Linked DNA regions of Homo sapiens: region 1 is linked to region 2. The links are contacts of gene promoters, found by promoter capture Hi-C in human tissues and cell types (Jung and others, 2019). All regions are on one chromosome and are shown on one strand. The core of a region is centred on a gene start or on the middle of the fragment in contact, and the rest is flanking DNA. Distances in the headings are between cores, read along the strand shown. Region 1 overlaps PTCD2 (pentatricopeptide repeat domain 2). Region 2 holds the start of FCHO2 (FCH and mu domain containing endocytic adaptor 2).

The links. Contacts are between HindIII fragments. The study calls those that stand out against the background at their distance.
Region 1: a fragment that was not itself captured here is called in contact with the fragment with the promoter of FCHO2 in region 2 in 1 of the 25 tissues and cell types used here (dorsolateral prefrontal cortex).

Annotation. Positions count from the first base shown.
Region 1 is chr5:72,353,704-72,358,528 of GRCh38, forward strand. PTCD2 (pentatricopeptide repeat domain 2) reads left to right here. Exons shown (of 10, transcript NM_024754.5): 10 at 4,500-4,825. The coding sequence ends at 4,724. Among named protein-coding and RNA genes, the nearest start is that of PTCD2, 36 kb to the left of the region's middle. The HindIII fragment of the contact is 4,646 bases long and covers 1,174-4,825 here.
Region 2 is chr5:72,953,810-72,958,739 of GRCh38, forward strand. FCHO2 (FCH and mu domain containing endocytic adaptor 2) reads left to right here and starts at 2,232. Exons shown (of 26, transcript NM_138782.3): 1 at 2,232-2,320. The coding sequence starts at 2,288. It overlaps FCHO2-DT (FCHO2 divergent transcript), which reads right to left and starts at 2,075. Exons shown (of 2, transcript NR_186392.1): 1 at 1,205-2,075. RefSeq lists a silencer at 2,125-2,824. The HindIII fragment of the contact is 22,512 bases long and covers 1-4,930 here.

The DNA of each region.
Region 1 (4,825 bases), core at 2,247-4,746, 600 kb before region 2:
GATACAAATTTAGTGTAACATAGAGACAAGCATCTCAAATCAATCTAAGTGGATAGACTAGTAAGAAGTAGTACTAGGATAAGTAGAGAGCCAATAGAAAAAGATACAGTTGTATATATTCTTATACCACAAACCAGGATACATTTCAAATGGATGAGAATTTAAATTTTTAAATTGAAATACACAAGTACTAGATATAAACATTAGTAGATTCTTTAATATCCTGGGAGTGGAAAAACTTAGCTTTCAGTCAAAATCCAAATCAGTAAAAGAAGTGATAAATTTGACTAAATAAAAATGTTAAAACCTGTTTTTTCATGTGGCAAAAAGTCTACAAGCAAAGTCAAGAGGTAAGTAATCAATTTTTAATCATACTGACAAAAGGCTAACTAGCCCTAATATTTCAAGAGCTCTTTTTGAGGCCAGGTGCGGTGGCTCATGCCTATAATCCCAGCACTTTGGGAGGCTGAGGCAGGCGGATCATGAGGTCAGGAGATCGAGACCATCCTGGCCAAAATGTAACCCCGTATCTACTAAAAATATAAAAATTAGCTGGGCGTGGTGGTGCATGCCTGTAGTCCCAGGTACTCAGGAGGCCGAGGCACGAGAATCGTTTGAACTAGGGAGTCGAGATTGCGCCACTGCGCTCCAGCCTGGCGACAGAATGAGACTCCATCTGAAAAAAAAAAAAAAAAAAAAAAAAAAGCTCTTTTTGAAAATTCTGAGAAAAGAACCAACAACCCTGAAGAAAAATGGGTAAGAGATGTGGACAGAATTTACTAAAAATGAATTGTGAATGGCCTTTAAACTTTCGAAAAGATTCTCTTGCCCATATCAAGAAAATGCTAAATAAAACTACCCTATGATATTTCTCTTGAATAGAAATCTGCAAGTTTGCCAGCCAACTTGGTTGGTGAGGCTCTGAGGAAATGGGCGCTATCATCTGAGGAAATGCTGCTACAGCGAATACAGATTGGTACACTACAAATACTTTCACCCTTTGACTCAATCCTCCCACTTCTTGGAGTATATTCTAAAAATATACTGGCAAATATAAAGAAGTTGTATGTACAAGGCTATTTGTTGCAATCCAATTTCTAATAACAGCAGACTGGAAAAAAGCCCAAATTTCCATCACTAGACAACTAGTTGTACAAATTAGGGTCTGTTCGTACAAAGGACAGGAAATGAGGAACAGCTACATCATATACTGCTATGGATTACCATTTATATGGATCACTTAAATATGTTTTTAAGTGACAAAAGTAAGATGCAAATGGGTATGTGTAGTATGCCTTAAGAAGGCGGGACCATATAGTTATTTTTATATATTTATGTTTTTGAAAAACACTACGATAAAAAAAACAAAACTTAAGTGGTTATGTTGATTTCTTTTTCAGATCTTTTTTTATAGAAATACTGCTGTTTTTGTATGTAAATTTTGTAACCTGCAGCTTTACTGACTTTATCAGTCCTAAAGGTTTTTTTGATTGAGTCTTTAGGAACCACAGTTAATTATTATGCATATTTCAAAAATGCCAAAGAAGTATATTTTAATGTTTCACCGCAGAAAAAGACACATTGGTAGATGATGGATAGTTTTGTTAGCTTGACTGAATCTTTCTACAGTATACACATAGATTGAAACATCACATTGAACTTTATAAATATACACAATTATTATTTGACAATTAAAGTAATTGACAAATTATTTTTTAAATTTAATTTTAAAAAATTAAGAAATAAAAGTTTTGAAAGTGAAAGTGAGGGACGGAAACATGAGTTCTCCGAATGTACCTTGTTTATGTATTTCATTTAGGAACCATGTAAATGCTTTGCAGAACTGTAAAGCAGAGTTAAATAAAAATGAAGAGAAAAAACAGTTCCTAAAAATTGAAAGTGAAATGAAACAAATGAACCCATGTGTCACATTGATGGCTTAAGTACACAAATTGGAATTCTTGTAGGTCATTTGAGATGTAGTAATTTGTGTATCTCTCATAGCATGTAACTTAAGGTGAAAAACAGAAGTGTAAAGAAATTGTACGTTATTGACAGTGATCATATTGTTAGTAATAATACTGATATTGTCATTTTGACCAACCAAGTGGCCTGTTGGTTGGTCCTCTCTTCCTCCCTCATTTCTCCTGCCTCTCTTTTATAGTTTGGTCCAGGCTGAAGGCTGAGACAGCAGGATTGGCACTAGAGGGCAGTGGCTGCTTCCTCCTCCTGCCACACTGTCGCCTTCCCAGCCCTGTTCCATTTCCTCACTTCCACCCAAAGGCTTCTTCCTTCTGATAAAAGGGAGCTTGTCAGGAAAATGACTAACTGGATATGGTTGATTTAACGCTTCTTTCTATTTGCAGTTTTAGCTCTGTGTAGGCTGTGATCCACCCAACCCTTTTGGAGTAAGTTTAGAAAAGTAGGGAAAGTAGAAGCATGAACAGATTTTAAAGTGCATAGTCACGTGTGTATGTGTACATGTGAAATCCAACTTCCATTTTCTCAGCAGCATTGTTGTTAACAACCATTCCTTAGACCTGAACCATCAATACATTGTCACCCATTTATATGGCTAAAGCACCCGAACAAACTTTATATTGAAAAATACTCATATAAGACTCTTGTACTTAGAAAATGAACCCTCTAGTTCAGTGTCTTCCCTCTGGTTACTGTGGGACCACTCAAGGAACAGCTTGATGAGAAATGGATTGATTCATATAACTCCAGTAGCTTTTGAGCTAGTTCTAAATATATATGTGTGAGATTGCAAGTGGAGTCCTATATTGTAAACGTCTGCATTTTACAAAGTGCATTTAATGCTTATGCCAGCAGTTATTTAAAAAGTGTTATGTAGGGAGATAAGACTATAAACTATCATAGGTGCTATTATACCACCACAGGACTATTGAAAATAATTGCTGATTTATTTCTGTAGTTATGTAACAGAACTGTTACAGTTTTTAGATCAAAATTACCTCCAGCTTGGCATGTTTGCTCTGCTGCTTTTAGAAGCCATATGCTGCACATTAAGTCATTTTCACCTTGAACATGAGGACTAAACAAGCTATTCTTTTTTAAGAACATTAAGAAGTGCTTAAGCTGCTTGTCTGCAGGCATGGTTGGGAGCCATTGTCTCAAAGGAAGATGTGCAGGTGCAAACAGTGTTATATATTTGGAAGAGGTGGAAGAGGGGCAAAGGATTTATTAGGAAGCTTGATCCCAATTAAATTCCATCAAGAAATGTGTTGAGATTGTACCCTTGATAAGGATTGAACTAAGTAAAATGCTGATTTTATTCAGAAAGCAGCTTCACATTCTCCATTCTAGTTCACCCATTTTGGGGGTTAAATACCATCATATACTTGTGACTCTACTACGTATGCCTCTAGCCCAGACCTCTCCTTCATGCCCCAGACTTGTATATCCAACAACGTTCTAGACATACCCATTTAGATGGTTCACAGCCGTCTCAATCAGGTCCAAACAGAGCTCTTGATTTTCCCTTCCAAATCTCGCCTCCCTGTCTTCTCTATCAGGAAATGATAGCACCCATCATCAAGCTATTAAAGCCCCAATTGAGAAGATAGCTTTGACACCTCCCTTTCCTTCACCCATTCAAAAATAAGTCCTTTCAGTGTAAACTCCAAAATATACCTCACATAAGTGTACTTCTCCTTCTTTTCTGTACCTTTCCCAATCTCAACTACCATTGTTTCTTATCTGGGCTATGGTGTGGGCCTCCAGAATAGTCTCCACATTTCTGTACACTCCAGTTCATTCTCTGCAACTTTTTGAACAGAAATGAGATCATTTCCCACTTTAGATGCTCTGATGGCTTTTTTAGAATAAATTTCAAAAAACTTATTGTGGAATATATATAAAGCCTATGTAATTTGGCCCTGCCTCCTCCTGCTCTAATCATTACATTGAACAAAGTTGATTCCACTGGTATATGACCTCCTTTACTTGGTGTGTTTCATTATATATGATGTGTTATTTGAACCCCCCTTTTTTTATATTAGGTATGATTTTCAAGTACTAATTTTGAATTTTGTGTGTAGCTTTTGGAATCCCTCATAGTAATACTGCTGTCTGTGTGCCCCAGTACCCTGGTTTTCACGATTTTAGGTGTATACCATACTTTTTTTTTTTTTTAAGACTCACTCTGTCGCCAAGGCTGGAGTACAGTGGCACGATCACAGCTCACTGCAGCCTCTGTCTCCTGGGCTTAAGTGATCCTCCCACTACACCAACTAATTTTTAAAAAAATTTTTTTACAGACAAAGTCTCACTGTGTTGCCTAGGCTGGCCTAGAAATCCTGTGCTCAAGCAGTCCTCCTGTCTCAGCGTCCAAAATTGCTTAGATTAAAGCATGGGCCACCTCGCCTGGCCTACCATACATTTTTGTTCATGTCCATTTCTTTTTCTTAGGGTTATAGTAAGAATAAGGAAGAAATCTTGCAGAGATGTAATGATGTGTTCTTGCTTTTTTCCAGCTGGCCAAAGTGAGGGAAAAAGTGAAGGATGTGCCTGCCCTTGTGGCCAAATTTGATGAGATCTATGGGACACTGCACATCACTGGCCAGGTCACCACTGATTCTTTGGATGCTGTGCTCTGCCACACCCCCAGGGACAGGAAATCTCACACGTTGCTATTAAACAAGAGGATGGTCAGCCGTCGCACCTTCCAGCCACTCAGCCAGTCCCTGTTGGCTGAGTAACCCTGGTTTCAGTCCACCTATGGATCTGAGGGGCCTGCTTCTAGTGAGTTATTACCTTTCCTAAGAAGCCAGGTATCGCACTTCAGCAGACAGTGTGCTGA
Region 2 (4,930 bases), core at 982-3,481:
CCTGGAAACCTCACTTGAGAGTGCAGAAGGAGGCTGATACCATCCACGCTCTTCCTATACTACACAGTCTTGTCTGAAATTTAGTCACCTTAATCACTGTTTACTATAAAGTTCCACAACTTAAACATCAGGCAATTACAGGATATGGTGTTTCGGCCCTAATGAACCTTGCAAATACCTGAAATACTCAGAATACTTATTTTCATTCCAGATCTACTCCTAAATTTAAGGGGAGCAGAAGAATGCGAATGAAGGCCAGTAACTATTGTGAATACTATACTAAATTGTCTGTAGGTAATAGCCACACATTGGAACACTAACAAAAGGAAAATGTATGCTTGATACTACTGAGAAACAATACTTTGTCATGCAGGAATCTATAGCATTCAAGCTGAGATGAAGGATTTGACAAGTTAATTTGTCTTCTCTCTTACCTAAGCATTTCTGCTGCTCAAATTCTGACTCCAAAGCAGTCTCTGAAATGGGCAGCCATGCTATGTACAAATTTTCACTGCTTTTGGAGTTCACCGTTTGTTTTGAGGACAGAAGACAAAAGATAGGAAGAAGAGTTTTCCTGGGGCCTGAATAGTGTTCTTCACTGGGAGAGGGAATTTATGGTTATGAGCCAGTGTTCAGTATCAGATCACAAGCGGCAGGGGCACCTATTTTTTTTTAAATTAATGTGTGTGTGTGATATGTAAGTTCCTTTAAAGCATGGAGTCCAGGATAGAAGTCTCTCTTGCCCAGGTCTAAGGGTGCGGGGGGAAGGGGGGGGGCGCGGCGGTGGGAGGGAGTACTTTAGTGATACTAGGAATTTAATGCCAAATGTATTTGCTGTGTGACCTAGATGGCTGAATTTTTTAAAAAGTTCTTCAGCATCGAGAAAAATCCAGTTAGACCGATAGCTTAGAGAGCTGTAGCTTATTTCTAAATTTGACTTTCCCTAAAACTAAGTGTAAATGTCAGTGATATGAGGACTTTTTAAAGAAACAAAATAAAGAAACAAGATACACAAAAATAGAGCAACTATGGCCAATCTTGTTTCATCCCTTTTCATCTATGACCTTACTCATACCCCTATCCATAATAAATGACTTTCAGCAAATCCTAGATGTTCTGCATCCTATATCTTTCTAACAGATATTCTTAAAAAGTATGACCACAATACCATTATCCAATTATTCCTTGTTCAACAAGCACTTACAATTTCATCCATGTGAAAGGCACCTCATGATTTTTACTTGAGGATGAAGATAATTTCTCATGAATTCTCATTGTTTTAAGTCACCTGAAGAGGTGTGATATGCTACAATAAATCTATTTGTAGGGCTTGGCTTCAAGAACTGAAGATTCTGGACCTAGCTGATCTGGTGACAGTGAACTTGAGACCTCTAATAGCGTTTAACTATTTTTTTTTAACTTTTGGAAAGCAAGGTGTAGGAAGGGGATTTAGTTTTTCCATTAGGTCGTGGCATGTTAAGACTTGTTTCTTTTTCCAAAATGTTCAAGTTGCTGAAGAGAACTATGGACTATGGGTCAGGAAGTCCGTCGGTTTCGGGTCACATTCCGCTCCCGCAGGCCTGCGGGCCGCCCCAGCTGGTTTGTTCCCGGCGTGTTAGAGGTCAGAGGCCGAGGCCGCACTCAGTGCCTGGGTCTCGCGCAGCTCCAGGGCTCTCAGGCGACACTGGGCGTTTCCTTTCCGGCTTCGGAAAGTTTTGTTTTGGTTCAAGGAAAGGCGCCCTGTTGACCAAAGGCTTCTCAGTCTCCTCCGGGTGGCCAGCGGCCAAGTTTCCTCCAGCCCAGCGAGTCCAGACTATAGTCCGTTCGAGATCCTCGAAGGCCGGGGAAGCGAGTCTTGTGAGGAGAGAAAGCGAGTGGGCAGCCAGCCTGCCGACTCCACTGCCGCTGGCTGGCCCTTCTCTTCCCTCTGTCCCTGGGCCAGTGCCCGTCGCACCACAAACAGTGCGAGCAGTCTCCCCGGTGACTCCTCAAGGACCCAGTTCTCCACCATTCCTAAGAGAACACTCAACCCAGCCGCGCCCGGGATGCAGAGAGATCTACCAACACCCGAGAATGGGGACAGGGCGCATGCGCACACCGTGGCCGTGGCGTCTAAGTGCTCGCCCAGCTGCGGCAGCCGCTAGGTGGCGCATGCGCCCTGGAAGGTGCGGGCCGGTCTCTGGGAAGAAGGCGGCGGCGGCGAAAGGCGGGGGTGCTGTGGGGGCCGGGCCGTGTTTACACAGCGGCGGGCGGGCGCGGACGCGGAACCCGGCGCGGCGGCGGCACGATGGTCATGGCGTATTTCGTCGAGAATTTTTGGGTAAGCTTAGGATGTTGGAAGTCGTGTGTTTCGAAGTCCAAGGCTTTTGGCGCCTGAGCTTGGCCTGCGTGCGCTTCGGGCGGCGGCGGCGGCCCCTCCGGCAGGGCGAGCGTCCTCCTGCCGCGTCCCGCCTGGGTGAGGTCCGGCGGGCGACCGGTCGCCAGCCTATAGGGACTCCCGGGCTCGCAGCCCTATGGGGACGGGGGCTGTCACCGCGGCCCGGGGGCCCGCAGCGGGGCCGCCGGCCACCGGGGCTGGGACAAAGCGCCGGATGGGGCGGGAGACGGGACCCAGCCCCACCGGAGGCTCCCGGTGCCGCGCTCCGCGCGGGGCGTGCGCGGCAGCTCGGACGCGAAGGACGGGCCCGCGGCACAGCCGCCTCCCGCTGCGCGCTGGCTGGGAGCGCCGGGCGGTGGGGTTTTGCCTCCTGCCCTCACCGCGGGCCCCCCATCTGAGCGATCCCTTTTACCTCTGACGGTTTCCACACCAAATCCAGTGCGGGGTTGGGCTGGACTAGCACTTCCTCTCAGCCTCGCAGCTCGGCTCGTGGGTTTGCGCCCAGGACTTTGCCTCTGGGCCTGTTCACAAAGCGTTTAAAAGTTGGATTTAATGTAACTGGACTCCTTGGGCTTAAATGCATGGAGACCTCCCCCTACTCTGTGCTCCTTCCCCTTCCTCATTCTTTCCACCCCTTGTCTTAGCTCAGTATTAGATTCTTCTTTGAGAATTTCTCCGGCTCCCGGTGGAGTATTTTTCTGCAGTTATTGTTTTTTTTTTTGTAATGGGAAGTACAGTTCAGCCATGTACAGGAAAGGAACGTGTTTACTCAGGTATCTTTCGTGAATCCCATTTTATGCCCTGACAGTTGCAAGTACTGCAGGTCCATTTTCGTTGAGATTTAGACATATTTAAAGGGGTAATCTTTTAGCTAGTAAGGAATGTATGTTAAATTCTTAATTCTAAGTGCCTCAAGCATGGTCTTGGTTAGTAATCAGATCAGTTCATAGTTATTTATTTGTCTTGAATGTACCTTGTTTTCCACAAAGAACGTATATACTAGACCTTAGGTGTTTTGTTTTTTAAACAGCTTTATTGAGTTCACATTTCCGTACCAATACACTCATTTAAAGTGTAGTACAATTCAGAGGTTTTTTCATATGTTCATAGAGTTGTGTAAACATCACCATATCAGTTTTACAACAATTTCGTTATCCCAGAAAGAATCCCTAGACCCATTAGCAGTCACTCCCCATTTTCCCCCTGCCCCAGGCCTAGGCAACTAATGTATTTTCTGCCTCTCTGCATTTGTCTAGTCTGGACATATCCTATAAATGGGGCCATGGTGACCAGTTTCTTTCACTTAGCATAATGTTCTCAAAGTTTATCCATGATGTAGCATGTATCACTACTAATTCCTTTTTATGGTCAAATAATATTCCATTCCACATTTTATTAATATTTATCCAATCAGTGATGGACATCTGGTTGTTCCCACTTTTGGGTTATGAATAATGCTGCATGAACATTTTTGTACAAGTTTTTGTGTGAACATATGTTTTCATTTCTTTTGGGAATGGGATTCCTGGGTCAAATCGTAGCTCTATGTTTAACATTTTGAGGAACTGCCATACTATTCTGAAGTGGTTGTAGCATTTTACAATCCCACCAGCAATATCTGAGGGTTCCTCTCCACATGCTCACGAACACTTATTTGTCCTTTTTATTATAATATAGTGAGTGAACGTGAAGTAGTATTAATATTTTATTGTGGTTCGATTTGCGTTTCTTTGATGCTTAACATCACAGTTAATGTGCTTATTGCCTATTTTTATATTTTCTTTGGAGAAATGTCTATTTAGATTAATTGCCCATTTAAAAATTGGGTTGTCTTTTTTTATAATTGAGTTGTAAGAGTTTTTTTTTTTTTAATATTCTGGATACACACCTTATCTGATACATAATGTGCAAACATTTTCTCCCATTCTGTGGCCTGCCTTTTCATTTTCTTGATGCTGCTCTTTGAAGTAACTCATAAGTTTTTATTTCTCGTGAAGTCTTGGTGAAGTCCATCTTATCTATTTTTTTCTATTACTTGTGCTTTTATTGCATCTAACCCAAAAATTATTTGCCTAACCCAAAAATTACGCCTTTTTTCTTGTTTTCTTGTAAGGGTTTTATAGTTTTACTTCTTCTGTTTAGTTCTATGATCCATTTGAAGTTAATTTTTGTGTATGGTGCAAGGGAAAGGTATAACTTCATTCTTTTGCAATTGTGTATCCAGTTGTCCCAGTACCATTTGTTGAAAAGGTTCATCTTTCCCCGTTGAATTGTGGTACCATTGTCAAATATCAATCGACCAGAAATGTATGGATTCATTTCTGTATTTTCAATTCTATTCCATTGTCTTCCCTTACGACAGCCAGTAACACACAGTTTGGATTGCTGTTGTTTGGATTACAAATTTGTTTTGTATAGCAAATTTGGAATCAGGAAGTATGAGTCCTCTAGCTTTTTCCTTCTTTTTCAGGATTATTTTGACTGCCCTGGGTTCCTTGCATTTCCAGATGAATTTTAGGATTAGCCTGTCAATTTTAGGCATTAGGTTTTACA